5 separate regions of the Homo sapiens genome follow, and regions 1, 2, 3 and 5 are each linked to region 4. The links are contacts of gene promoters, found by promoter capture Hi-C in blood cells and fetal thymus (Javierre and others, 2016). All regions are on one chromosome and are shown on one strand. The core of a region is centred on a gene start or on the middle of the fragment in contact, and the rest is flanking DNA. Distances in the headings are between cores, read along the strand shown.

Region 1 (6,045 bases), core at 1,962-4,461, about 14 Mb before region 4:
AATTTTTTTAACTTTCGGTTCACTATTTTGTAAACTTATCTTTTTTTTGAGGATTCGTTATGGATTTTTATGTATTATTTATTTATTTTGGTGAGCTGTATAAAGCTAAGTGTGGTGGCTCACACCTGTAATCTTAGCACTTTGGGAGGCAGAGGTGGGCAGATCACTTGAGGCCAGGAATTTGAGATGAGCCTGGCCAACATGGTGAAATTCCCTCTCTACTAAAAATACAAAAATTAGCTGGGCGTGGTGAGGCACAAGAATCACTTGAACCTGGGAGGTGGAGATTACAGTGAGCCAAGATCGTGCTACTGCATTCCAGCCTGGGCGACAGAACGAGACTCTGTCTCAAAACAACAAAAAAAGTGGTAGTATTAACAAGTTTCATAGGTGTCTAATATTTTCTTTTTATATTTATTATAAAGATACTATGAAAAGCATTAAAAATATTTAGAAGATAGAGGGGAAATATTTATTCAACTTCCTTAATGGATGAATAATTTTTTCCTGTGGGGCAATTTCTGTTTTGTTGTTGTTTTGTTGTTGTTTATGCATACCTATATATTTCTTAACACATTTGCAAATCCTAGAATTAGACCACTGTGACTCACATAGAGCATGTGTAGGTTTTTTCCTTTGTTAAAAATGAACATAATTATGATTTAACCACATGGAAGTTACTGTTCAATGTTAATATTATAATGATACCAGAAGATACATTTAAAATTTCATTATTTGCCTTTTAGTTATCCAAGCATTAGGTGAACATCTTAAATTAAGACAACAAGTTATTGCCACTGCTACGGTATATTTCAAGAGATTCTATGCCAGGTAGGATTGTTTTTATTTTATTTATTTGAACTCTTATCTAATGTTGATGAACCTTAGCACAGTGTAAATGAATCATGTGTCTACCATAGAGTTATCTTGATTTTTTTCCCAGTGTGTTTTCTGTATGAATGATATTTAACTTTGTTTTATCATATTTTAGGTATTCTCTGAAAAGTATAGATCCTGTATTAATGGCTCCTACATGTGTGTTTTTGGCATCCAAAGTAGAGGTATAAAACAATTTTCTGTTCTTCATCAAAGTGTAGTCAATGTATGTTGGTTAATCTGCCCCAGTTTTCACATGGCCTATGTAAAATTAATAAATGGTAATTTATGCAAAATACTAAAATTGTACAAAATCAAAGAAATATATACATATCCTTATATATTCACTTAACAGACACATACAGCACTTACTGTGTACCAACTGACTTAATCTTTGTAACAAACTGGAATACATAGTAGTAGTATTCCCATTTTATAAATGAGGAAACTGAGACAGAGATGAAGAACTTGCTTAAGATGATATAGCTAGTAAGTGTGAGAGCCCGTGTTTGAACCATGGGAGTCTCGTTACCAATCCTGTGTTCTTAACTACTTTCCTCTGCTGCCTTTGAGACATCTATTGTTTGGCACTGAGTAGTATTCAGTAAGTACCACAGCTTGCCTACCATAACCTGAGAATGTCCCTTATGCTTCTCACCCATATGCTTATCTTCTCCTGTCTTCCCTCCCATCATCCTGATGATTGGCTGCCTACCAAGCCAGAAGGAAGGCAAGGATTAGGGGAAGCTATAGCTATATAGAGTCTAACAAGTAAAAGTTGAGGTTGTGAGCGTAGAGAAATTAGGTAAGGGAGAGAAGATAGATAGGAACTTGCGGCAGAGACTGAATTTCTGTTCAACTGTTTTACCTTTGTAGTATTTTTGAAAGAGCTCAGCTAAAGTCCAGAAAATAATAGCAGATATTGGCTGTTTTTCATAAATAATGTAGTCTTTGGTGGTGTGAAATCTTTGCATTATGTTTCTATTTTTGGATAATGTCTTAGAGTTCTATTCTTAGAGTTGTATTCTTGAATATTGAATGTGATTTTTACCTAGTAAGTTTACATTCCTTTTGGCACCCACTTTGATTTAGTTTTGTTTTAGCCATGATTTAAGGTTATCCATGACATCTTTCCCAACTGTTACCTAAATAATGACAATTGACTCTGTTAGAAATAATATTAAGACAAGCTTTCTAGAAGTTTATGTTTTCTAATTGTGAGTGGTAGTTTAAGAAGGCAGAATCAGTTAAGGTCCTTATTATGGATTGAGTTTTCTAATTCTAATAATTCTATGTAATATTTGATTTTATTTAAATATTACCATGTAATAATTTAAAGTCTCTTAAGCACAGGCAGTATGGAGGACCAAGACAAAAAATCTTTATAAACATTTAATCTTGTAGATTAATTTGAGGATTTTAATCTATCTTACTTGTTAAATATTGTTATGTGATTTACTGAGTAGAACTCTGTGATGTGATTTACTGAATGAAAGTTTTCCCTTTGAGTTTTGGATAAAGAATTATTCCTAGGCCGGGTGTAGTGGCTCACACCTGTAATCCCAGCACTTTGGGAGGCTCAGGCGGGTGGATCACCTGAGGTCAGGAGTTTGAGACCAGCCTAACCAACATGGCAAAACCCCGTCTCTACTAAAAATACAAAAATTAGCCGGATGTGGTGGCAGATGCCTGTAATCCCAGCTACTAGGGAGGCCGAAGCATGAGAATTGCTTGAACCCATGAGGTGGAGGTTGCAGTGAGCCAAGACTATGCCACTGTACTCCAGCCTGGGTGACAGAGCAAGATTGCATCTCAAAAAAAAAAAAAAAAAGAATTATTCCTGAGAAAGAGAATGTAGTCTTTCAGATTTGGTCGTAGCATTATTATTATTTTTTTTTTATCTCTGTGACCAAATCTTTCTGTATTTTCTCTAGTTTTATGGAAATTGTATGGAAAGCTCATTTAAGAACATGTCTCAGGCTTTTACTTTTTCTTTTCAGTTATTATAGTTGGAGGTTTAAATGTAAAACAAATATATTAGTACACATACATTTCCCCTACACAGGATAAGGATGTAGGCTGAAGGTATTTAAATAGATTTTTAGTTTAGCTCCTTTTGTTGGATAAGAAACCAACTCTTGATTTTTTTATTTTAAAATGAAGTGAAGGCTTTAGAAATCTTACGAGGCAATAAATGAAACAGTATATATAAGGTGGATCATAATAAATTTTAGTATTTTCACAATGGTGGTTGTTCAGTTGAAAGAGGAAATGGGAACTGACTTTGGAAGTCTTACGTAATTCCTGTCTCCCTGTTCTAAAAAGGATAGTAACTATTTATATGGTTTTTTTTTTTTTTTAGTTCTTTTGGTGATTAATTAAGGTTTATCTTATTCACAAATTCAACTGTTTTACCATAGAATGGCATGAAGTATCTGTTAATACAGGTTGAATTGAATAGGAAACATACTTAATATTCTTGCAATTAAGTATAGAATGTAAACAATCTTCTTGGAAACTAATTTAAATGGAAAAACTGACACTGTAACCTTAAGGCTTGGTTTCTAATTTGGTACCTTTTATTGTTATTAAATTATAAAATTATTTTAAAATATGTCTTAAGTTGTAGCAATTTGGGGGAGAGGTAATACAGGCAGAATATCCGTAATCTGAAAATCCTAAATGCTCCAAAATTTGAAACGTTTTGAGGGCCAACATGACATTCAAAGGAATGCTCATTGGAACATTTTGCATTTCAGATTTTTAGATTAGGGATGCTCAACCAGTGTAATGCAAAATATTCCTAAATCAGAAAAATCTCTGATCCTAAGCATGTCAGATAAGGGGTAATCAGCCTGTACATTTAGGAGTGTAAGTACTTCACACCTCAAGTAGTTAGAAGGTGAACAGATTGTAAACAGGAGCAAGGAAATCCTGTTTTGAATAGAGTTCAGATACCCTTAGATTCATTGGGTTAACATGTACCTGCTTTTCTTTCTTTAGGAATTTGGAGTAGTTTCAAATACAAGATTGATTGCTGCTGCTACTTCTGTATGTAAGTGCAAAAAGTATATCTGCTTTAAGGATGTAATTCTAAAGAAAGCTCCAGAGTACATAGATTTTTTTTTTTTTAGTTTATGAGACATATGAGATTGGTTGGCTTTATTAAATTTCCTGAGGATAACTTTATATCTAGTGTATCTGGCAAAAAAATCAAGCTAAAAGGTTTTTTTTTAAAAAGATATAAAGATATTACTTTTAATGTTAAAATGGATAGTAATTATCAATCCAAAAACATCAACTCAGTGGCTTTTAATCTTGTAAGAGTAAAGAAAAAATTCTGTTTCCGAATTTTATTGTATTTTATTGTTTTCTAATGACTATTATGTCATTCTTATGGGTAGATATTAATATCTATGTGCAAACCCGTTCCTGTGTTGTTGGGTTGTTATGAGGACCAAATGAGTTAATATAAGCTTTTAGAACAGTGCCTTGCTTAGTATGTTACTTTGCTGAGGCTGCCATAACAAAATGCCACAGAACAGGTGGCTTAAACAACAGAAGCGTATTTTCTCACAGTTTTAGAGCATGGAAATCCAAGATCAAGGTGTCTGGCTATTCTTACATGGACCTTTCTGTGAGCACACACACTCCTGGTTTGCTGTCTTCTTCATGTGAGGACAATAGTCTTACAGAATTAGGCCCCACTCTTATGTCCTCATTTAATCTTTTTTTTTTCTTTCTTTTTTTTTTTTTTTTTTTTGAGACAGAGTCTCGCTCTGTCGCCCAGGCTGGAGTGCTCACTTCAACTTCCGCCTCCTGGGTTCAAGTGATTCTCCTGCCTCAGCCTCCTGAGTACCTGGGACTACAGGCATGTGCCACCATGCCCAGCTCATTTTTGTATTTTTTAGTAGAGACGGGGTTTCACCATGTTGGCCAGACTAGTCTCAAACTCCTGATCTCGTGATCCGCTAGCCTCGGCCTCCCAACGTGCTGGGATTATAGGTGTGAGCCACCATGTCTGGCCTGTCCTCATTTAATCTTATCCCTTTAAAGACCCTCTCTCCAAATACAGTCACATTCTGAGGTACTAGGAGTTAGGGCTTCAACATACGAATTTTGGAGGGGGACATATATTGGTCCACAATACTTGGTAAACTTTAGGGGCTATCATCATCATCATCATCTTCAATGACAACAACATCATTATCACTGGAAAACACTGTGCCAATGCAGTGGCATTGGTACCAAGGTAAAATACAAGGAATTTAAGGACAAAAAAAGAAGACAGAAACATAAAAATATTAATACAGAAGGAAATAAATAGTATAAGAGAGTTACAGAGAATGCTGTGAATGTTTTGGGTGGGAAAAGATTGTTTCATGAATCCAGAAAGGATTAAGTAGAACTTGGTGAAGGAAGTTGAACTGGGGAAATGCAAGAGATAGACAGTCTAAGAACACTGAATAGTTTAGTCAAATAGGGAAAGCTCATGAGTTAGATTAACTGAATGGTGAGTAAGGAAATAGTGGGGAAAACTCCTTACCTAATTTCAGCTAATAGAGGGCCTTCGATGCTAAATGAAGGAATCTGCACTTTGTTCTATTGACAGTAATGAAAGTTAGTTATTTGAGATGGAGTCTCGCTCAGCCGCCCAGGCTGGAGTGCAGTGGCACGATCTTGGCTCACTGCAACCTCTGCCTCCCAGGTTCAAGCGATTCTCCTGCCTCATCCTCCCTGGTAGCTGGGATTACAGGTGTGTGCCACCACGCCGGGCTAATTTTTGTATTTTTAGTAGAGATGGGGTTTCAACATTTTGGCCAGGCTGGTTTTAAACTCCTCACCTCAGGCCTCCCAAAGTGCTGAGATTACAGGCGTGAGCCACTGCACCTGGCCAGTTTTATTTATTTTTACACATGAGGGTAATGCCAGCATTGTGCATTAGGAAGGTAAATCTGACCCACCTCAGCCTCCCAAAGTGCTGAGATTACAGGCGTGAGCCACTGTGCCTGGCCAGTTTTATTTATTTTCACACATGAGGGTAATGCTAGCATTGTGCATTAGGAAGGTAAATCTGACAGAATTATGTAAGATGAATTGGAGGAGAGGGCAGGTAGAATTAGACAAATTTTGAAGTTATTTACATCCCACAACATGGATGAACCTTGA
Region 2 (5,869 bases), core at 585-3,084, about 14 Mb before region 4:
CACAGAGCAAAATTAGAGATTACTGATAACATGTGGTATATGTCCTTCTAGTTTTTGCTCCATACAGTGGTTTTTATTTATTTTATTCTTTTGAGACAGAGACTCACTCTGTTGCCCAGGCTGGAGTGCAGTGGAGGGATCTCGGCTCACTGCGACCTCTGACCCTGAGTTCAAGCAATTCTCCTGCCTCAGCCCCCCTAGTAGCTAGGATTACAGGCGCCTGCCACCACGCCCAGGTAATTTTTGTATTTTTAGTAGAGACGGGGTTTCACCATGTTGGCCAGGCTGGTCTTGAACTCCTGACCTCAAGTGATCTGCCCGCCTCGGCCTCCCAAAGTGCTGGGATTACAGGCGGGAGCCACCAAGCCCGGCCCATACAGTGATTTTTTAAAATCAGACTGTCCAGTAGTCTTATTTGTGCTAAGTGGAAATTAGGGAAAGGGTCAGAGAAATAGGGATTTCCTTTTGCCTTCAGTAGTATCCTCATGAACCTGCGTCATGGTGTTGTTAGGTGTAATTAATGAAGGTTTCTCACAAGATAAAATGTTATTTTGAGGACCACGTCCGTGGATTGGAGGAAAGGCAGATGGTTAGCTAGTGACGACTTTATTATAATGCTAATTCAGGAGTATCTGGGTCTCTAGTGCTGAGGAAAACTGAATTTTCATGCAAAGGGCATCTATATTTTCACATCTGTATCTTTATCCATCTAGCTGTGCTCTTACTATTTTGTTTCTACGGTAATTTGCTATTTCTTTTGCACGACAATTGCCCAATGAAATAATTCAGATACTTCGTGCACTTTGTCACGCAGAAGTTTTCATGTTACTCTCTGGAAAGGCACTTCCCAAGATGTAGCTAATAAACACTGTATCTTTGGAACATTTTTGTTTTCCTTTTAACTTGTAGCTCCTAGCCTGGAAATTGATACTTTTGACACTTGAACGTTGTTCATATAAAAACACTGTGAAATCAACATACTGTCTTTGAGGAATGGCATTGCATGCGTCCTTTTGAGAAGCCATCTTGTAGTTGAAGGAAAGCAGCAGGACGGAAACCAGACTTCCCCCCCACGGTTCCCTAAAAGTCACGGATAAAGAATGAAAAACCGGGACTAGTTAAGCCAAGGAGAGAAGAGCAAGTGTTCCCGGAAGGGGGCGCGATGTGTTGAGGTTAACAAAGAGAAAGACAGCTGCGGGGTCAGCTAAGGTCTCCGCTTTCGCTACCGACCCAGACTGCTCACCTTCACAAACTCACGTTTTCCTCAAGCGGCACCCTCGGCAGCGCTCAAGTGAGAGTATTCCATCCTTGGAATACTCCGAGAAGGTTCGAGCCAGAAGTTGGATTGCCTGAAATGCCGCTTCCAGCGCACTAAGTAACTTGAACTGCGCTAAGCAACTGGCCAGAATTGGTTTGGTTTGGTTTGACCCTGGGGTTCCTCCGTAGTCTGTAAGTGGAGTTGCGAACTCAACCCCTTCTCCAAGGCGGGAGTGTTTCTAGGAGGGAACATACTTCCCCTTAAAGGAAGATCACGTTGCTAAAGTAAAAAATTTGAAGGCGCCCTATGTGTAGAACACTTACGTTCTTGGCTTTCTGGCCACTATAAAGATGGGTCGGGAATGGCGCCAGCTACGTTAAAAAGTAACGTGCAGGAATGGTTCAGTTGCCCGGTGTTGACCAGAGTAGAGATGGTTTTGCCCACAAAAAAAATGGCGCCGAAACATGTCAATCCGCACAATCACGTGTTCACAAACCTGGATGAGAGATGGTATGGCTTCAGATGACAAACGGATGTTATTATTCTTTACTTCCGGGTGAGACAAATCGGGCGCCATCTTGTCTTGTTCCCGAAGAAGTAGAAGCATCGAAAGCGTTGGAGAGGTGTTACCGGAACGGCGGCGACAAGGGTGTTCCCGAACTAGAGTGGGTAAGTGATGGAGAACAATTATACGTGGGCACTTGCCGGACCATTACAACGTTCTTGGTTTCTGTGGCGAAGGTAGCATAACTTAAAATAGGCTGCGTACGCTGCTTGGCGCGACCGCTGGAACCTCATTCCTTTAAAGCGCTGCGGTCCGCCAGACTTGGTAAATCAGAGCGCTGCTTTCGCTGAAAAGGAAATGTCCTTGTTAAAGAGAGTGCTCACGGTCCCATCTTCTCACAGAGTTTCCTCTCGGACGAGAAGGGACTAATTGTTGGGTTCCTGACCGGCCGTTAAACACTGCGCGTGCGCAGTGGGAACCCCCTTGTGGGAAGGGGGTTCATGGGGGCGGAGGAGGCGGGGGCTCGCGACCTGGAGCTTATACCCTTTGAGGCTCTGACTACGCAGGCGCAGTTCCTTAGTTTGTGTTTTTCGTGTGTTCTTACCCAATGATGGATATTATGTGTTAAGCTTCGCTAAAGGTAGTATCCAATATTTCAGTTTTTTACCCTGTGGTGGATAGTATCGTCATCTGAACAAATTGAGCATTAGACAAATTTGTTTGTGGGTTGTTAAATTAACATTCTAGCTTAAGATTTTAATTCAACATTAATCTTTTACATCTTTTTACTTCCCCCTGCCCCCAAGTAAAACAAAATAAACTTAGAATTCCTCATTTGAGTGCAGCAGGGCGAAAACAACAGCAACCAGACTACTAAAGATTTTACTTGTGGAATTTTTTTGTAAAGTGGCAAAGGGCTTATAGAGAAAACAGTTCTTTAAAGATGTTCTTGAGAGTTTTTTTTTTTAACTTACTAATAGACTTTATGTTTTAGAACAGTTTTTGTTTACGTTGAGCACATACGACGTCCCCACTACACACACAGTTTATCTTCTTATTAATAGATGTTAGTATGGTACATTTGTTGCAACTAATGAACCAATAATGATAAATTATTAACTAAGGTCCATAGTTTATTCCTACTTCCTCACATTTTACCTAAAGTCCTTTTTCTGTTCCAGGATGCCAGCTAGGATATCACATTACATTTAGTTGTTGTATATTCTTAGGCTGTATATTCTTGGCTGTGACAGTTTCTCAGGCTTAACTAGTTTTTGATGACTGTTAAGGGCTGACTTGTGCCCCTCTAAAATTCGTATCTTGAAGTCCTAACCTCAGTACCCCAGAACGTGACTGTATTTGGAGAGAGGGTCTTTAAAGAAGATGAGGTCACTAGGGTGGACCTTAGCCCAATATATTAATAACTGCTGTCCTTATAAGAAGAGAGTAGGATACAGAGGGATGATCATGTGAAGACATAGGGAGAAGACAACCATCCACAAGCCAAGGAGAGAGGCCTTAGAATGAAATCAACCCCATAGAGCTTACACTATACGCCTCCAGAACAGTGAGGAAATAAATTTCTGTTGCTTAAGCCACCCAGTCTTTGGTACTTTGTTATGGCAAGCATACCAAACTAATACAGTGACCTTGACATTTTTTGAGGAGTATGGTCAGGTATATTGTAGGGTGCCCTGCTATTGGAATTTGCCAGACGATTTTCTCATGATTAAAATGGCCTTACGGACTATATCAGGGGAAGATCACAGAGGTAAGATGCCCTTTTCAACACATGCTATCAAGGATACATACTATCAAGGTGACTTATCACATTATTACTGACCTTGATCATCCTTCTGGAGTAGCGTTTGTTAGATTTATCCACTGTAAAGTTACTTCCCCCACCCCTTTTTATACTGTTCTCTTTGGAAGGAAGTCACTTTGCAGAGCCCACGCTTACTGAATGGACAGTTGTGCTCTTCCTCAGTTAGGGTGGAATATTTACATAATTTATTTGGAATTCTCTGTGGGAGATTTGTGTCTTCCCTCACATTTATTTGTTAGTTTATTTTATCATATCCTTATGGGCTTGTGGATGTTTATTACATAACTTATATTATAATCCAGTACTTCTTTATTTTGTTGCTCAAATTGTACCAGCTTTGGCCATTGGCAGCTCTTCGAGTTGTCTACTGTTCTCCTTTGACATGTTCCTATCAATTTTTTTTTTTTTAGCACTTTATTGCTTCCTGGCAGTATACATGCCCCAGACTCATCTTTTATATTTCCTGTCGCAGTCCTAGAGTCAGCTATTTCTTTAAAGATCTCTGATTCCTTTTATTGAAGAATGGTATTAAAACCAAGTTCTCGTGCCTAGGTGTGCTTGTTGCTACTAGGGTGTCATTTTGGGCGCTCTCGCTACATTTATTTTTAAATTATTATTGGGGGGGTATTTATAACCGACTCTCCAATTCTCCAGTTTTTTTTTTTTTTTTTTTTTTTGAGACAGAGTGTCACTCTGTTTCCCAGACCGGAGTGCAGTGGTGGCACAATCTTGGCTCATTGCAACCCCTGCCTCCCGGGTTCAAGTGATTCTCCTGCCTCAGCCTGCTAAGTAGCTGGGACTACAGGTATATGCCACCATGCCCAGCTAATTTCTGTATTTTCAGTAGAGTGGAGGTTTCGCCATGTTGGCCAGGCTGGTCTCGAATTCCTGGCCTCAAGTGATGAACCCACCTTGGCCTGCCAAAGTGCTGGGTTTACAGGCATGAGCCGCCATGCTTGTCCTCCACTTTTAAAATAGTCTTTTGAGCTACAAGCTGCAAGTATTTCAGTATATACTAAAATGCATGTCACATAAAGTAGCAAAATTTCTGTTTTCCGTATTTCGAATGATTACAAGATTAATTTTTACCAGTGCCATTTCCACCTAATCTGAATTAAACAAATAAATTCTTTTTTGACTTTGAGGTCAGTCAACTCATGTAAGACTGAAATGTCAGGGGTGAAGAGGATTGTTGTATTTTCTGGCTTCTCAGCTTTGTGGTTGATTTGAGAAATATTTCATCCTATGCATCAAATGATAGATGTGTTTCTGTAGCTCTTTGATTTTGTAGTTGATGCTCAAGGACTTTAAAATACCACATTTTAATTCTCATCCATCTCTGTCACAGTCTCTGAGTGACTTTTGTAAATATTAATGATTGTCATTTTGGCCACACGGGGTGGCTCATGCCTGTAGTCCCAGCACTTTGGGAGGCTGAGGAGGATGGATCATTGAGGCCAGAAGTTTGAGGATAGCCTGGGCAACATGGTGAAACTCCATCCCTACTAAAAAATACAAACATTATCCTCGCGCGGTGGCATGCACCTGTAGTCCCAGCTACTCGGGAGGCTGAGGCATGAGAATTGCTTGAACCTGGGAGGTGGAGGTTGCCGTAAGCCGAGATCACACTGCTGCATTCCAGCCTGGGCGACAGAGTGAGAATTTCTCAATAATAAATAAATGATTGTCATTTAAACAAGTTGTTTTAGGACCTCAAAGCGATGAAGTTCTAATATAGATACATTTAAGAAAAGGATAAAATAGATGATGGCCATTTCTGGTTGTATTAGTTTTCTAGGGATATTGTAGCAAATTACCACAAACTGGCTGATTTCAAACAACAGAAATTTATTCTTCCACAGTTCTGAAGGCTAACAGTGTAAAATTGAGGTTTTGGTAGGGCATGCTCTCTAATGGCTTTGTAGGGGATTCTTGTCTCTTCCTAGCTTTTGGTAGTTCTTGTCAATCCTTGATGTTCCTTGGCTTATAGAGCCATCTACTCCCAATCTGTACCACTGTGGTCATGTTACATTCTCCCTGTAAGTGTCTTATGTCTCCTTTTTAATAAGGTCCCTCCTAATCAAATATGAACTCACTGTAATTTGAATACATCTGCAAAGACCCTATTTACAAATAAGGACATACTCACAAGTATCACTTGATACTCACAAGTATCAGGAGTTAGGACTTCAGTGTATCTGTTGGATGGGGACACAATTCATTCCATAACACTGGTGATAGCTATCACTTGATTTTTTTGCGGCAGTGTGTGGTGGCTTTG
Region 3 (6,030 bases), core at 805-3,304, about 15 Mb before region 4:
CCAGGATGCTCAAGTCCTTACACACAATGGTATAGTATTTGCATACAAACTATGCACATTGTCCCATATACCTTAAACCATCTCTAGGTTACTTATAATACCTAATACAATGGGAAATGCTATGTAAACAGTTGTTACATCCATATTGTTAAGGAAATAATGACAAGAAAAAAAGAGTCTGTGCGTGTTCAATGCAGACATTACCATTCTTTTTTTTTTTTTTTTTCAATTGTTTTTGTTCCAAAGTTGGTTGACACATATACAGAAGCCATGGATACAGAGGGCTAACTGAATTTCCTTCCAGGCCAGGACTATGTAATACAAATATGATGCAAGCCACCTATGTAATTAAAAATTTTCTAGAAGTCACATAAAAAGTAAAAATAAAGTTGAAATTAATTTTAACATATTTTATTTGATCCATTATATATTATTTCAACATGTAATCGACATAAGAATTACAATATTTTACATTTGTTTTCTAAGTCTTTGAAATCTGGTGTACATTTTGGACTCATTGCATGTCTCAGTTTGGACAAGCCACATTTCAAATGTCAAGAGACGTATTTAACTGGTGGCTACCCCAATGGATAGGGCAGTTCTAGGTAGTCTATTTTCAGTTCCTCTCTTCTCCCTTAAGCCTCTGGAACTGTGATGGGAATAATCTGTCATGTGAATTCCTAGCACTTATCAGCACCTCTCATTATCACTTGGCCTCCTTGCATTATTTATTTTTGTGATGCATTTGTCTTGTCTCATGAACTAACTTGTAAACTCTATGAAGTCCAGGACCAAAGACACATGTAATCTCAAGACTGGAAATATCTTTAACAAAACCATCAACTAATTATTCTGTTGATGTGTGGCTCCCCTGTACCAAGTCCCTATTAAGTGAGCTTCAGAATCTCCTTGAAGCAAAATTCTGTGGTTGAGGTATTCACACATGCTAAGGTAGGCAATTCTTTGGGTCGTGCTACAAGGGCATCTTCTTTTCAGGATCTTAAATCTGTTCCCTGAAGTTTGCATCACATGAAACAAATCAACTTCACATGATAGGTCATTTCATATTTGGAGAGAGTCCAGTAGTTTTCTCTCTTCTAGGTGAGTCCTGGAAGGTTTAATCAATCCTTCTTCACTTGCCCTGTTTTTGAGTTCTCGTCATCATTTTGCTCTTCCCTGATATAATGCCAGCTTGATTAAAGTCTTCAAATGCTGAACACAGCACTTCAGAGGTGGTCTGACCAGTAAAGACAATAACTGGATCACTATTGGCTGCCTCTACAAAACAGTTCTACCAGGCATCGGGGCACATTACCTTGAGGAAGCGGGAATGGCAGAAGAGAGCCACAACAAACATATTAACTCATACTATCTTTGCATTGTTGGCTTTTAGTCTAGAACTCTTTGCAGATAAACCACACAATTCTTTAGGTTAGTTTTTCTTCGTATCTTCCTATCTTTTCAATCGAGTTAGGGAATCTTTGGGCTTTCTGTTTTTGGAGGAGGTCTTCTGACCGAAGAGCCGACTTGCAGAGATCACTTTGAGGGAACTAAGCTGAGAATCCAGAAAGCTTATGGAAAACAGGCCTTGACACCAGAGAACCATGTATACTCTCTAGCAGCCAGAGGGCTTTGGCTGAAAACGACGATAGCAACTACCTGTTTCTTCATTCAAATTGCTCTCCTTTCCTTTACCTTTAATAGGAATTATTTCCTCCACATATTTACCTTACAGAGAAGGGCGGGGAGAAGACGCGGCAGACTGAAGTAAATGCAGGGAAAAAACTCACAGGTAGAGAGGTAGAGACGGCAGGCCTGGCCCGTTGCGGGCAGCCAGGGTAAAGTGGAGCGTCCCGCTCCCGCCCTGGGGCGCATCCTCGCCGCCGCCGGGACCTTCCGCCTCTGCTCCTCCGAACCCAGCGGACTAGAGGCTGGAGGCGGGAGGCGGAGCGGCGCGCGCACGCGGGCGGGGCAGAGGGCCCGGAGTCGACGAGTCGACGTGCCGACGTTGGCGCTGCAGCGGGGCGGTGACGTGTAGGCCGGCGCCAGCTCCACTCTGTCCCTCCTCGCCGGGTCTGTGCGTCTTTGCGTCTGTCTGTCTGACTGATGGTCCTCACACGCGGTTCCCTGTGACTGGGCGCGACCCCGGCAAGCGCGGCTTGGAGGGCGGACGGGGCGCGGCGATACAGCTGCCCGCTCGCATCTTTGGCCCTGCGCTCAGCTCCTCACCCGGCGTGGGAAGTTAAAGTAAAACCGAAAGGGAAGAAGGCGCGGTGGCAGGAGCTGACAGAGTGATGGGAAACGCGTGAGCCAGGCCGAGAGGTGAGGAGGTGGAGGTGGAGGTGGGAGGACGAGAAGGGTCGCCGCGGCCAGGGGAGCTGGCTGGAGGCGGGGACGGCGAGGCGGGCTACGCGACCCGCCAGAGATTCTCTTCCTGCCTCCGGGGCAAGTCCCGACCTGTCATCCTTTTCAGTGGCATGAGGTCGAGTCCGGGGTCTCGCAACAATACCGCCCATTCCTAGAGTTTGTAGGTGGGGTTGGGGATAGAAAACTTAACCTAAGCTACATATTGTCCAAGTGTTAAGCCACAACGTGACCAGATGAGGTTTTTCTGTCCCATGCATGGGTAATTTGTTTTCTTTTTTTCTGTTACAAAGCCTTGATAACTTCGTTTTCTTCACGTAGATTTGGGGAAAGAAATCTTCCTCATATTTTTCCCCCAACACACTGGAAAGTAAATAGGTAGCTGACCGTGATGGATTGTGGGTGAATTTCGCAATCAAGGAGCCTATAATGTCATTTTGAAATAAATAAATGTGTATGTGGGTGCTAGGGAGGTTTTGTGAGTACTGGGCAGTCATTTCAAATAGGTTTCTTATAAATTAACTTACTCATGGAATGCAGTGTGCTAATGGTATTTGCTATTCTTTGGTTTAAAAGAAGCATAATTCTAGGGGCTGGTAAAAGTTTGATGTGTTGTCACTTGTGCATTCAAACTCATGGTTACATTTTCTTTCTTTCCCTAGGTTAGGTGAGATTGACAGCCATTTTCTCCATCACCAGATTTTATGTTTCATAGATTGAAATCCTTTTTCTGATTCTCAAAGTTCTCAAATGTTGAGAATTAAGCTTTTGGTTTTACTATGGATTGTGCTCCAGTTTATGTTGTCTCTTTTTTTTAATGATGGTTATAATAGTCTTGCATGAGAAAAATGATCCTTAAAGATGCTCTTAAGCTTAGGCTAAATAATCCTATTTATATGAGAAATTAATTTTTCATGGTTCAGCTTTCTTGATCCCTGCTTAACAGTTTTTTGTCATTCATTCATTCAAGTCTTCCTATGTGTCAAACGCTGGGCTAGGCCTAGGAGAGCAAGAGAGAGACAGTCTCTGTGCTCATGAACTTTCTATAATCCAGCAGCCTCCTTTTAAGACAGAATCTTGACTAGGGTTCTTTCTCATGCCATGGATCTGTAGTTAACCAAAACAAAGCTTTTAAAAGAAAAAGTTATTGTCAATGTATATATGTAATTGGCATTGAAAGGGGAACAGATGATCTTGCTTTAACAGCATGATTTGATATTGCCTTTGATCAAAAAGTAGTATATGTACCAGTGGTTTGCCATTTCAGAAGAGTAAGTTTTTCTTTTTCAAAGCTTGTTTAAATATAAAGTTCACAGTTCTACCTCAGTTTCTACCTCAAAAAAAATAAATAAATAAAAAGCTTTTTCTTTTGAGGTAGAAATCAGTTTCTTTCCAGTCTTCACTTTGGTCTGATTGATCTCCTGTGTATCTCTGGAACCCCTAGGCTCAAGCAGTCCTCCTGCATCGGCCTCCCAAAGTGCTGGGATTACGGGCCCCATTTTGCCTTTTTGTATGCTAATGAATTGACTAAGAATTTTGTCTTAGCTAGCTGGCTGCTCCTAGTAGCTTCAGGATGGGGGCTGGTTACCAGAAAGGTCAAGGAATTATTAGAAGGTTGGGACTTTCATCCCCACCCCCTAACTGCTTAGGGAGGTGAGAGAGGGGCTGAAGATTAAGTTGATCACCAGTGGCCAAAGGGTTTAATCAATTATGCCTATGTAGTGAAGCCTCCATAAAAACTCAAAATGACAGGGTTCATAAAGCTTCTGAAAGCTGAACATGTGGAGATTCCTTGAGGTGGTGTGCCCAGGAAGTACTTGGAAGTTCTGCATGGAAATTCCCTTCCCTTATAAATTACCCTATCCTATGTATCTGTTCATCTGTATCCTTTGTAATATCCTTTATAATAAATTGGTAAACGTGTTTCCCTGAGTTCTGTGAACCACTCTAGCAAATTAACCGAACCCAAGGAGGGGGGTCATGTAATCCCCAATTTATAGCTGGTCAGTCAGAAGTACAGATAAAAAAGCCTGGAGCTTGTAATTGGCATCAGAAGTGGTGGGCAGTCTTGTGGGATTGGGCCTTCAATCTGTGGGATATGACAGTATCTCTAGATAGTGTCAGAAATGAATTGGAGAACACTCATCTGATGTCTGCTGCAGAAGTGATTGTTTGCTTGGTGCATGGGGAGAAACTCATACACATTTTGTCACAGACATCTTCTGTGTTGATGGTTGTCGTGTGAGAGCAGAGGAAAAACGGTTTGAGTTTTTTCCACTCTCACAAGAGGGCAGGCGTAAATTCCTTCAGTCTGCCTCCCAGAGGCTCATGGATTAGGGTGGAATGAGAATTTTGTCTTTCAGACATAATCTGTGCTAGGCCCTTTTCCACTGGACTTTCGTGGGAAGAGTTATAATACATACTGCCTAATATGTGCTGGGTCTGTTCCACGTTTTCTTGTGCTCGTTTCATCTTTGTGGGATATTCTGGAATTTTCTTTCTGACTATGCTTGTCCTTATCTGGTGTTAAAATATTTTTTTTTATTTGTTTTCCCAAGGACATTTAAAGGAAAAGCCTTCCTTACCCTGTGCTAAAAGTAAAATTAACACAACTTTGGGGGGGAATATTCTGAATATAAAGACTAATCTGCTTTATAGTTATGAGCCTGTCCAGGATTTTTTTCCCCCACCTTTGAATGGGAAACCTAGTTAGAGGATAAGTTAGAGAATAAGAGCCCCATAGAAATTTGGTTGTTTTTAACCATTATATATTTTGTATTGTGTGAAAAGTGTTTATGTGTTTTATTATTTTTGTCATGCTTTCTCTGTTCTGCATGCTTCAGATGTGTTTCCTAACTTGATTGAGAACTATTCAGGAGCAATTGCTTCTTGCTTAAGAATGAGTTAGCATCTAAAGTGAACTTGTTAGGTGGAAACTGTGAATAGCTAAGATTACCTTTGAGAATCCCTTAAAAGGACATCAAGTTGGCATAACATGCTGTCTCTCAGCATGTCCTACACAGCCATGTTTTTCATCCTGACTTGGAATGTATCACAGTTTCTTTAGATGAACTCCCAGTGAAAAAGTTGCTCTGTGTTTGGTCACCACCTTGTATGTTTTTTAAAAAAAGAGAAAAAGTGTTAAAAACTAGAATCATGCAATGCAGCAAGATGCTCACATTTTGAGATGCATGTGGTGATTGAAACAGACTAAAAGAGCAAGATTCTTGTTGCCCATCCCCCATTCACTCTGGAGCAGATATTCAATACCTGAAATGGTAAGCAGAATCTCTAGTAATTATTGTTTTTGTCTGTCTCTGCCTTCCTTTTTTTGGCCTACAGTGTTTGGTAGATTCAAGAAAGTTAAATGTGCCTAGACTCTGCTGTATGAACCAATTGATGGTAATAAGGTTTAATACAAGTAAGAAATTAAATTATCTTTAGGATTTATCATGAAAAAATCACCCCCTTTTGAAATCGCATAATGGAGGATTATAAATATGTGTCGACGATGGTTATTTTCTGAGTTCTGATCTTGCTAATGTTAACAATATCACAACTCAATTTTTAAAAAAGGCACAATAAAATATAAATATTCTTATTCACTGTTTAATATTTATTCACTGTTCATTTTTCAAGGTGTGGTTTGTGGGTACAAGATTCTAT
Region 4 (5,496 bases), core at 937-3,436:
TGGATATTCCATATAACCTCTCCAAAGTTCAGAACTTAACAAGGTTGGGGAAAAAATTTCGAGCTCTGTGCGTGTAAAGGTGGGTTCTAGACCATAGGCTAAAGACATGTAATGAAATAAAGGTTATTTCCTTAGATGAGGTCCGTAGTGACAGAAATTGAATTATGTTTCATGCTTTAGGTGTGGAAATTCTCTGCCATAAAGAATTTCCTTATGGCTGAAGTTTATTATATTTTTTTTCCTTTTCTAATCATAAGAGCAATTTGGAAATTTAAATTATCTATTGTCCAGTTAACTTATTCTAATTGCCTCTAAGAAATCAGATGGGAAAGAAGTCTTTTAATTGGATGTTGTAGTGATGTCTGTTTTGAACAGAACTCAAAACATTTTGTCTTTAAAATATACTGGCTCTTGGTGAAAAGAGTAATTTCAAAATAAGGCTTTAAAAGGAAGCAAAAGTTTTAAACAAAAGGCAACATAATTTACCAGGCAGGTTAATAACTTACATTATTTGTCATGAGATTAGTTTTTTAAAAGGTAATTTACAAAAGTGTAAAGCACTCAAGTCCATAGGAGGCACTTGATACATGTAGATCCACTCAACATACACCTATTTTAGTATTAACAGATAAAGATACTTAAAAACTGCCAAAGTGAAATTAATAAATGTTTAAATATGTACCTAGAAATATTAAAAAATGGTAAGCTTTCCAATGATGTTACACTGTAGTCTTTTAAATGGTTTAGTCACAAACAGAAAAGTGTATTTGTGATGTTTAGACAATAATAGCTAATCGTGAGGATCAGTGAAATTGTTTACTTTTATACACCACTGTGGAGTTGGTACCACCATTCTACAAAGCAGTTTGACTGTATCAAGAATGTTTGTTTTTACCCTTTGACCCAGTAATTGTATTAAAGTTGATTCTAAATAATTAGAAATGTGCATAGGTTTATCATCAAGGATGGTAATATCAATGGACTTTAGTGGTTAGCAATAATGGAACAGGATGGTACATTCTGATAAAGGATAATAATGCATCATTAAAGATCCATGTTTTTGTAATACGGGAAAATATTCATGAAACTACATACATCATTAAAAAACATTTGTTTCCCCACTTTGAAGGATAAGATCCTAGGAAAGAGAGATGACAGGCACAGGCTCTGTCTTTAGAACGTGTTCAAATTCCGGCTTTGTTAGTTTTATGATCCTAAGTTCCTTTCTGTCTCAGTAATTTGCCTGTATAATGATTGAAACTATAGTACTGTACCTACACCATGGGGTGAATGCATGAAGGTCAAATGAAAGTGCTTAGTGTCTGTACCGCCTAAGTAAATTTTCGCGATAATAGTCTTCCTGCATCTCTCACTGTAGCGGACAATACAGAAAAAAAAATTTAGAAATGTGATGAATTAGTAAAGGGAAAACCCCATGAGACTCTATAAGAGGGATTTTACCTAATCTGCCAACCTGCCTCTTCCAAGCACTCGGATTTTGGTTGGGCTCCCGGAGCCGGCGTGAATTGAGCTCTACCCTTGCCCGTGAGCGCGCAAAAGAGATTTTGTTGGTGGGGTGGCGGCCTGATGAGTTGTAGTCTTTATTCTAGGGCTGTTTTACTCGCCACCCCCCCAGCCCCCAACACACCCCTTTTAAAATACCGACTCAAAGGCGTCCTCCTATCCCCCTCTCCCTTAGGCGTCACGCAAAGCTCGGACCTGCTCCCACCCGGAGCCGAGTGTACGGTGAGGCGCGGAGCGTTGCGGGGTCGGGGAAGCGCTACCACCCGCTCCATCCCTCTGCGGGTTCGTGTCACGAAGACTACAGTTCCCAGCGGGCTCCACGAGCTCCGGTTGCCCCTCAGGCAGCGCCCGGCGGCTACGGGGGTGCTGTAGTTTCTTCCGGGCTCCCTACAACCTTCTTCCCTCTCCTCCGCAATACAGGCAGTTACTGGGTGCTGGGGCTGTCCTTTGATTTCCGGAAATGGCCGGTCGCCAGTGTTGTCAGAGTTTCCACGGAAGACTGCGCGCTACTCCGGCCAGGAGGGCGGAGCGGCGAGACGCTAGAGGCTTTGCGCTGGGTGACGACTTCGGGCACGTTCTACGGCCGTTCCTCTGGTCGGCTGGGGACCGCGGCCGCGCACGCGCGGCGGGGGGCGTGGGGCTGGGCCCAGCCGGACGCGACCTCAGCCTGCGGCGGCTAACTGCCGGTAGGCGTCTGTGTGCGCCGCCAAGTCGGTGGGGCGGGGACGCGAGGTGTGGATGGGGGGTCGCCTTGACCTCTGCCTCAGCCAGTAGCGCAGTCTCGGCCTCGCCGTTACGGAGATGGTGCCCTGGGTGCGGACGATGGGGCAGAAGCTGAAGCAGCGGCTGCGACTGGACGTGGGACGCGAGATCTGCCGCCAGTACCCGCTGTTCTGCTTCCTGCTGCTCTGTCTCAGCGCCGCCTCCCTGCTTCTTAACAGGTAACGCCGCAGCGCGGAGCCTGGGCGGCGGCTTTTCTCCGAAGGTGCAGACGCCCGGCCCGTGCTGCTTAACCGTGCGGAGGCCGCGTAGCTGCGGGACTGGGGACCAGTGGGGAGAGCGAGCTCCGCAGAGGAGCGGCCTCGGGGAGCACGGCGGAGCGTCGAGGCCGGAAGCACAGGCCGGTGGGGTGGGGTTGATTGCCTCCTTTCCCGAGGCTTCGTCTCCTGAGCTACCTTTTTCTCATCCATTTCTCAAAACGAGTTCTTCATCTTCGTTGCTTTTCAAAAGTGAAATCCGTGTGTCGGCTCAAATTGAGACTGTACACAGGCAGTCAAGTCAGCTGACGGAGGAGTGTTCAAGGTCCAGTTCGTAGCCGCAATTTTAGGCAGAATCCGCACACCTGCAGCGCGTTCTTCCATCTCCCCACCTCCCACCCCCTCAGCTTGCAGCTGAAGCTTTTCCCGCAGTATTGTTGAATAAAACAGACGATCATAAAGATTTGTTGGACAGAAATCAGAAAGCAAAGTGGTACCCGTCCCAACATCCTTAGAATTTTTTATTTTTGAGACGGAGTCTCGCTCTGTCACCCAGGCTGGAGTGCAGTGGTGCGGTCTCGGCTCACCGCAAGCTCCTCCTCCCGGGTTCACGCCATTCTCCTGCCTCAGCCTCCCGAGTAGCTGGGGCTACAGGCGCCCGCCACCACGCCACCACGCTACCACGCTAATTTTTTTGTATTTTTTTTTTTTTTTTTTAGTAGAGACGGGGTTTCACCGTTTTAGCCAGGATGGTCTCGATCTCCTGACCTCGTGAGCCGCCTGCCTCGGCCTCCCGAAGTGCTGGGATTACAGGCGTGAGCCACCGCACCCGGCCACATCCCTATAATATTCTTAAGAGGACTTGATGCCACCCTCCCCAAAAAAACCTGAAATATTCCGAAAGGTTAAAATTGATAAATTCAATTGACATTTTGAAATCAGAAGATTCTGCCCCCGAAATAAACTTGTTTTACTTCATTTTACTATTTCAAGAAATTGTTGCGATGCAATAGGTAGTAGAGGAGACTTTTCCATTAAAATTAACACCAGATTTGCTTTTGGTGGAAAGAAATCTGAGATAGTTCTCATTGACAGCATCCGCAAGCTGTTTTCTCTGATGTTTTGAACAGGCAACCATTCTTACTCTTTATCTTAAGGTAGTTGATTCCCAAGGATAGCAACAGGGAGGAATGCGCAAGGAATTTGGTAACTTCATTTTTCTCTGGTGTAACCATTATTTGTGACTATGTTGAAGTTAGATTTCTTCCCTAAAAGTGGCCTTGCTTTCTTGTTGATTCTTGGTTTAAATATTATTGAGCTTAAATAGTAGTTGATGTTTTACTGAGAAGTGTGCTCTGTGATGGTGAGATGTTTGAACTGTAGGAGTGTGGGAGAAGTGGGATCCTTAACAGAGGGAACACTAATTATTATTTGCTTTCTGTCATCTGGAAGGTATTCCAAGCTAGACTAACAGGTTTAGTATGAAAGAAATGTAAGCTTCATATGATTTTTATTTTTATTTTTATTTTTGAGACGGAGTCTCACTCTCTTGCCCAGGCTGGAGTGCAGTGATGCGGTCTCGGCTCACTGCAACAGCCACCTTCCAGGTTCAAGTGATTCTCATGCCTCAGCCTGCAGAATAGCTGGGACTACAGGTGGGCACCACCATGCCCGGCTACTTTTTTTACATTTTTAATAGAGACGGGGGTTTCACCATGTTGGCCAGGCTGGTCTCGAACTCCTGATCTCAAGTGATCCACCTACCTCAGCCTCCCAAAGTGCTGGGATTACAGGCGTGAGCGACTGCACGCAGCCCATATGATTAACTTTTGTCCATGGATTCTTACCTACCTCTTTTGGGAACTGGGTCAGTTTAGGTTTCTAAGGTAGGAGAGCCATCTAGTAGGAGCAGGTTAAACTAGATTTCTGAGGTCATCTACTTATGGTCATAACATTTAGTGTTGTGTGTTATTAAAAAGTCATAGGATGCCATCTGATCTGTATACCATCTAACCTGTACCCTGTATTTCTTTTATGCAGAGAAGGTAGGAAATACAGGTAAATGTTACCTGAGTGGTTGGGTTTATGAGTGAAGCTGTTTTTGCATATGTTTTGGTGTTTTCCATTTGTTACTGCTGTAGTCAGCAAAAGTGATTTTAAACACTAGAACTGTCTTGAATAAAACCATGATTATGTATCCCTTTTCCAGGAAAAATCTTTTGGAAGGTGCCAGATGGTGTATGTAGCATGCTTTTCAGTGTATATGTGTGATTAAAAAAAAAAAAACTTATGTGTGTATTCACGTACACACACACACACACAGATGATAAGAGTATCTCTGAAATGTTGTTATACAAGAAAACATGGGCCCTTCTGAGATGGGGTATACTAGGTACATCTATTCTGAAATAAAAAATAATTTTATATGAAGTTGATCCTTGAACAGTGCAGAGATTAGGGCCACTGACCCCTATGAAGTCAGAAATCCGAGTGGAATACCATGGGATCCATACAAAGTACCACTAATGATACTGGGAGTACTCCCAAGAAGCAGAGAAAAGTAATGACATTACAGAAAAAGTGAAATGCTTGGTATGTACTATGGATTGAGGTTTGCAGCTGTGATTGCCTGCCATTTCAAGATAAATAAATTGAGTGTAAGGACCATTGTGAAAAAAGAAAAGGAAATTCATGAAGCTGTTGCTGCAGCTATGCCAGCAGGTGTGAAAACTTCGTACTTTTTGCAAAGTACCTTTTCATGTTTTATTGAAAATTTAGCTTTTATGTGGGGGCAGAATTGCTATGAGAAAGGCATACATATAAACTAATGCTATTCAAAAACAAGTGAAGTCATTGTATAACAGCTTAAAGCAGAAGGAAGGAGAAGGATCTAAAACTGGGTAATTTAATGCCAGCAAAGGATAGTTTGATAATTTTAGGAAGAGATCTGGCTTAAAAAATGTCAAGAGAACCGGAGAAAAAGCCTCTGCTGACC
Region 5 (5,399 bases), core at 1,374-3,873, about 12 Mb after region 4:
CCGCCTTGCCGCCCCAGCCTCCCTCCCTAGGAAGCAGGGTGCGCCCCGGTGCGCGCGGGGCTTCCCCGGACCGGCGTTCCAGTCCCTCTCCGGCTTCCGGCCCACCCCGGCCCCACTGAGAGCAGAAATGTGATCTCTGCCCTGAGAAAATGCTCGTGGCCAGTGACTACCCCTAACGCACAATAATATGGCTCCGATGGGCTCAAAGGTATTGGTTTTTTGTTTTGTTTTGAGACAAGGTCTCACTCGGTCGCCCAGGCTGGAGTGCAATTGCGTGATCTTGACTCACTGCAACCTCCGCTTCCCGGGCTCAAGCGATTCTCCTGCCTCAGCCTCCCAAGTAGCTGGGATTACAGGCATGCGCCACCACGCCCGGCTAATTTTGTATTTTCAGTAGACAGGGTTTCACCATGTTGGCCAGGCTGGTCTCGAACTCCTGGCCTCAAATTATACGTCCGCCTCGGCCTCCCAAGGTGCTGGTATTATAGGCGTGAGCCACCGCGCCCGGTCCAGTGTTGGTTCTTAAACGCGAGAATTGAGATCTCCCTTCACCTAATGAAAGTCTCGGCCACTATCGCAACATTCAGAACACCCAGTCTGTGTTGCACAATATGTTACTTAGGTATAAATCAAGGATTCATGTAATTTTGTCATTCCTTGCGTGATATTTTAAAAAACATTCTGTGTAAGGTATTTATAAAGCGTTTACTATTATCCGCAATCACAGGGGCTTGAGGAAAAACTTTGACTGTGGCCGGGCACCGTGGCTCACGCCTGTAATCCCAGCACTTTGGGAGACCGAGCCGGGTGGATCACTTGAGGTCAGCAGTTCGAGACCAGCCTGGCCAACATGGTGAAACCCCCGTCTCTTCTAAAAATACAAAAATTTGTGGGGCGCGCTTGTAGTCCCAGCTACTTGGGAGGCTGAGGCAGGAGGAATCGCTTGAACTCGGGAGGCAGAGCTTGCAGTGAGCCGAGATCGCGCCACTGCACTCCAGCCTGGGCAACAGAGTAGAACTCCGTCTCAAAAAAAAAAAAAAAAAAGAAAGAAAGAAAAAAAAGTGGACTGTGAAAACTGAAAGGACTAGAAAAACTACACTACAAAGATACAGAAACCAAGAAAGCACCATAGCGTTTGCCTTCAACTGCTTCCCAACTTGTTTTCCTCTTCCAATTTGATTGTGGTTTCCTCTCCAGAAGGAACTCCACAGTACTTAGCGTTGGCCACATAGTAGGTTCTCAAATACTTGTTAATAAATAAGTTTGTTCGAGAAGCTGGGCAATGATATTCTACAGCTGGAAGAAGAAACATAATGATCTAGTAATTAGCTCATTAAAAATAAACGTTCTTCTTTCCTCAGAGGAGCATTTCCCAAGGCCTGCCTTGATAGCCATCCAAAAAGGCCAAGCTCATCCAATCTTGCCCTAGATTTATGCTAAAATGCAGTTACAATCGATAGGATGACAGAAAACGACAGCACTTATTTAAATATAATAGGCACTTATTTAAATAGGAGAAGCTGTGACTTCATAGCAAGTGTTGGGGTTAGGAAACTGGGTGGATAAACTTGCTGATGCTGTAGATCTTAGCCTCTACATGAGATCATGTGGAAAATCTGAAAGCATTTTAGGTTCCTTATGTTTGCAATCAAATAACTGTACACCTTTTAATTTAAAAAGTACCATGAGGCACACACACACACTCGCAGGAACTTTTTGGCGTAACAAAACTAGAATTAGATCTAAAGCTAACTGTAGGACTGAGTCTATTCTAAACTGAAAGCCTGGACATCTGGAGTACCAGGGGGAGATGACGTGTTACGGGCTTCCATAAAAGCAGCTGGCTTTGAATGGAAGGAGCCAAGAGGCCAGCACAGGAGCGGATTCGTCGCTTTCACGGCCATCGAGCCGAACCTCTCGCAAGTCCGTGAGCCGTTAAGGAGGCCCCCAGTCCCGACCCTTCGCCCCAAGCCCCTCGGGGTCCCCGGGCCTGGTACTCCTTGCCACACGGGAGGGGCGCGGAAGCCGGGGCGGAGGAGGAGCCAACCCCGGGCTGGGCTGAGACCCGCAGAGGAAGACGCTCTAGGGATTTGTCCCGGACTAGCGAGATGGCAAGGCTGAGGACGGGAGGCTGATTGAGAGGCGAAGGTACACCCTAATCTCAATACAACCTTTGGAGCTAAGCCAGCAATGGTAGAGGGAAGATTCTGCACGTCCCTTCCAGGCGGCCTCCCCGTCACCACCCCCCCCAACCCGCCCCGACCGGAGCTGAGAGTAATTCATACAAAAGGACTCGCCCCTGCCTTGGGGAATCCCAGGGACCGTCGTTAAACTCCCACTAACGTAGAACCCAGAGATCGCTGCGTTCCCGCCCCCTCACCCGCCCGCTCTCGTCATCACTGAGGTGGAGAAGAGCATGCGTGAGGCTCCGGTGCCCGTCAGTGGGCAGAGCGCACATCGCCCACAGTCCCCGAGAAGTTGGGGGGAGGGGTCGGCAATTGAACCGGTGCCTAGAGAAGGTGGCGCGGGGTAAACTGGGAAAGTGATGTCGTGTACTGGCTCCGCCTTTTTCCCGAGGGTGGGGGAGAACCGTATATAAGTGCAGTAGTCGCCGTGAACGTTCTTTTTCGCAACGGGTTTGCCGCCAGAACACAGGTAAGTGCCGTGTGTGGTTCCCGCGGGCCTGGCCTCTTTACGGGTTATGGCCCTTGCGTGCCTTGAATTACTTCCACGCCCCTGGCTGCAGTACGTGATTCTTGATCCCGAGCTTCGGGTTGGAAGTGGGTGGGAGAGTTCGAGGCCTTGCGCTTAAGGAGCCCCTTCGCCTCGTGCTTGAGTTGAGGCCTGGCTTGGGCGCTGGGGCCGCCGCGTGCGAATCTGGTGGCACCTTCGCGCCTGTCTCGCTGCTTTCGATAAGTCTCTAGCCATTTAAAATTTTTGATGACCTGCTGCGACGCTTTTTTTCTGGCAAGATAGTCTTGTAAATGCGGGCCAAGATCTGCACACTGGTATTTCGGTTTTTGGGGCCGCGGGCGGCGACGGGGCCCGTGCGTCCCAGCGCACATGTTCGGCGAGGCGGGGCCTGCGAGCGCGGCCACCGAGAATCGGACGGGGGTAGTCTCAAGCTGGCCGGCCTGCTCTGGTGCCTGGCCTCGCGCCGCCGTGTATCGCCCCGCCCTGGGCGGCAAGGCTGGCCCGGTCGGCACCAGTTGCGTGAGCGGAAAGATGGCCGCTTCCCGGCCCTGCTGCAGGGAGCTCAAAATGGAGGACGCGGCGCTCGGGAGAGCGGGCGGGTGAGTCACCCACACAAAGGAAAAGGGCCTTTCCGTCCTCAGCCGTCGCTTCATGTGACTCCACGGAGTACCGGGCGCCGTCCAGGCACCTCGATTAGTTCTCGAGCTTTTGGAGTACGTCGTCTTTAGGTTGGGGGGAGGGGTTTTATGCGATGGAGTTTCCCCACACTGAGTGGGTGGAGACTGAAGTTAGGCCAGCTTGGCACTTGATGTAATTCTCCTTGGAATTTGCCCTTTTTGAGTTTGGATCTTGGTTCATTCTCAAGCCTCAGACAGTGGTTCAAAGTTTTTTTCTTCCATTTCAGGTGTCGTGAAAACTACCCCTAAAAGCCAAAATGGGAAAGGAAAAGACTCATATCAACATTGTCGTCATTGGACACGTAGATTCGGGCAAGTCCACCACTACTGGCCATCTGATCTATAAATGCGGTGGCATCGACAAAAGAACCATTGAAAAATTTGAGAAGGAGGCTGCTGAGGTATGTTTAATACCAGAAAGGGAAAGATCAACTAAAATGAGTTTTACCAGCAGAATCATTAGGTGATTTCCCCAGAACTAGTGAGTGGTTTAGATCTGAATGCTAATAGTTAAGACCTTACTTATGAAATAATTTTGCTTTTGGTGACTTCTGTAATCGTATTGCTAGTGAGTAGATTTGGATGTTAATAGTTAAGATCCGACTTATAAAAGTTTGATTTTTGGTTGCTTCTGTAACCCAAAGTGACTAAAATCACTTTGGACTTGGAGTTGTAAAGTGGAAACTGCCAATTAAGGGCTGGGGACAAGGAAATTGAAGCTGGAGTTTGTGTTTTAGTAACCAAGTAACGACTCTTAATCCTTACAGATGGGAAAGGGCTCCTTCAAGTATGCCTGGGTCTTGGATAAACTGAAAGCTGAGCGTGAACGTGGTATCACCATTGATATCTCCTTGTGGAAATTTGAGACCAGCAAGTACTATGTGACTATCATTGATGCCCCAGGACACAGAGACTTTATCAAAAACATGATTACAGGGACATCTCAGGTTGGTGGGATTAATAATTCTAGGTTTCTTTATCCCAAAAGGCTTGCTTTGTACACTGGTTTTGTCATTTGGAGAGTTGACAGGGATATGTCTTTGCTTTCTTTAAAGGCTGACTGTGCTGTCCTGATTGTTGCTGCTGGTGTTGGTGAATTTGAAGCTGGTATCTCCAAGAATGGGCAGACCCGAGAGCATGCCCTTCTGGCTTACACACTGGGTGTGAAACAACTAATTGTCGGTGTTAACAAAATGGATTCCACTGAGCCACCCTACAGCCAGAAGAGATATGAGGAAATTGTTAAGGAAGTCAGCACTTACATTAAGAAAATTGGCTACAACCCCGACACAGTAGCATTTGTGCCAATTTCTGGTTGGAATGGTGACAACATGCTGGAGCCAAGTGCTAACGTAAGTGGCTTTCAAGACCATTGTTAAAAAGCTCTGGGAATGGCGATTTCATGCTTACACAAATTGGCATGCTTGTGTTTCAGATGCCTTGGTTCAAGGGATGGAAAGTCACCCGTAAGGATGGCAATGCCAGTGGAACCACGCTGCTTGAGGCTCTGGACTGCATCCTACCACCAACTCGTCCAACTGACAAGCCCTTGCGCCTGCCTCTCCAGGATGTCTACAAAATTGGTGGTAAGTTGGCTGTAAACAAAGTTGAATTTGAGTTGATAGAGTACTGTCTGCCTTCATAGGTATTTAGTATGCTGTAAATATTTTTAGGTATTGGTACTGTTCCTGTTGGCCGAGTGGAGACTGGTGTTCTCAAACCCGGTATGGTGGTCACCTTTGCTCCAGTCAACGTTACAACGGAAGTAAAATCTGTCGAAATGCACCATGAAGCTTTGAGTGAAGCTCTTCCTGGGGACAATGTGGGCTTCAATGTCAAGAATGTGTCTGTCAAGGATGTTCGTCGTGGCAACGTTGCTGGTGACAGCAAAAATGACCCACCAATGGAAGCAGCTGGCTTCACTGCTCAGGTAACAATTTAAAGTAACATTAACTTATTGCAGAGGCTAAAGTCATTTGAGACTTTGGATTTGCACTGAATGCAAATCTTTTTTCCAAGGTGATTATC

The links. Contacts are between HindIII fragments. The CHiCAGO score rates a contact against its expected background, and 5 or more counts as called.
Region 1: a contact is called between a fragment that was not itself captured here and the fragment with the promoter of SNX14 in region 4, in 1 of 17 cell types (monocytes). The highest score is 6.6, in monocytes.
Region 2: the fragment with the promoter of PNISR here is called in contact with the fragment with the promoter of SNX14 in region 4 in 2 of 17 cell types (activated CD4 T cells and total B cells); the score reaches 5.9 in activated CD4 T cells.
Region 3: the fragment with the promoter of ASCC3 here is called in contact with the fragment with the promoter of SNX14 in region 4 in 1 of 17 cell types (total B cells); the score reaches 5.0 in total B cells.
Region 5: the fragment with the promoter of EEF1A1 here is called in contact with the fragment with the promoter of SNX14 in region 4 in 2 of 17 cell types (non-activated CD4 T cells and total CD4 T cells); the score reaches 8.6 in non-activated CD4 T cells.

What each region holds. Positions count from the first base shown.
Region 1 is chr6:99,556,383-99,562,427 of GRCh38, reverse strand. CCNC (cyclin C) reads left to right here. Exons shown (of 12, transcript NM_005190.4): 3 at 747-831; 4 at 992-1,061; 5 at 3,880-3,931. It also overlaps the pseudogene TSTD3. Among named protein-coding and RNA genes, the nearest start is that of CCNC, 9.3 kb to the left of the region's middle. The HindIII fragment of the contact is 2,286 bases long and covers 2,069-4,354 here.
Region 2 is chr6:99,421,273-99,427,141 of GRCh38, reverse strand. It overlaps PNISR (PNN interacting serine and arginine rich protein), which reads left to right and starts at 1,834. Exons shown (of 12, transcript NM_032870.4): 1 at 1,834-1,927. It overlaps PNISR-AS1 (PNISR antisense RNA 1), which reads right to left and starts at 2,271. Exons shown (of 3, transcript NR_125843.1): 1 at 2,028-2,271; 2 at 1,755-1,918. RefSeq lists enhancers at 1,033-1,082, 975-1,269, 1,153-1,372, 972-1,492, 1,493-2,012 and 3 more and a silencer at 2,176-2,356. The HindIII fragment of the contact is 21,108 bases long and covers 1-2,394 here.
Region 3 is chr6:100,877,353-100,883,382 of GRCh38, reverse strand. ASCC3 (activating signal cointegrator 1 complex subunit 3) reads left to right here and starts at 2,054. Exons shown (of 42, transcript NM_006828.4): 1 at 2,054-2,322. LOC107984041 (a long non-coding RNA gene) reads right to left here and starts at 1,926. Exons shown (of 8, transcript XR_007059692.1): 1 at 1,729-1,926. RefSeq lists an enhancer at 2,091-2,210. The HindIII fragment of the contact is 1,558 bases long and covers 1,574-3,131 here.
Region 4 is chr6:85,590,548-85,596,043 of GRCh38, reverse strand. SNX14 (sorting nexin 14) reads left to right here and starts at 2,186. Exons shown (of 29, transcript NM_153816.6): 1 at 2,186-2,465. The coding sequence starts at 2,326. RefSeq lists enhancers at 1,894-2,013, 2,324-2,493, 1,942-2,525, 2,526-3,109, 3,110-3,695 and a silencer at 2,044-2,263. The HindIII fragment of the contact is 2,215 bases long and covers 709-2,923 here.
Region 5 is chr6:73,518,256-73,523,654 of GRCh38, reverse strand. EEF1A1 (eukaryotic translation elongation factor 1 alpha 1) reads left to right here and starts at 2,623. Exons shown (of 8, transcript NM_001402.6): 1 at 2,623-2,655; 2 at 3,599-3,772; 3 at 4,139-4,318; 4 at 4,427-4,723; 5 at 4,807-4,957; 6 at 5,045-5,301; 7 at 5,391-5,399. The coding sequence starts at 3,629. It overlaps EEF1A1-AS1 (EEF1A1 antisense RNA 1), which reads right to left and starts at 44. Exons shown (of 5, transcript NR_187283.1): 1 at 1-44. RefSeq lists silencers at 19-158, 1,866-2,095 and enhancers at 1,818-2,640, 2,676-2,755, 2,806-2,915, 2,641-3,462, 3,206-3,505 and 1 more. The HindIII fragment of the contact is 5,848 bases long and covers 1-5,166 here.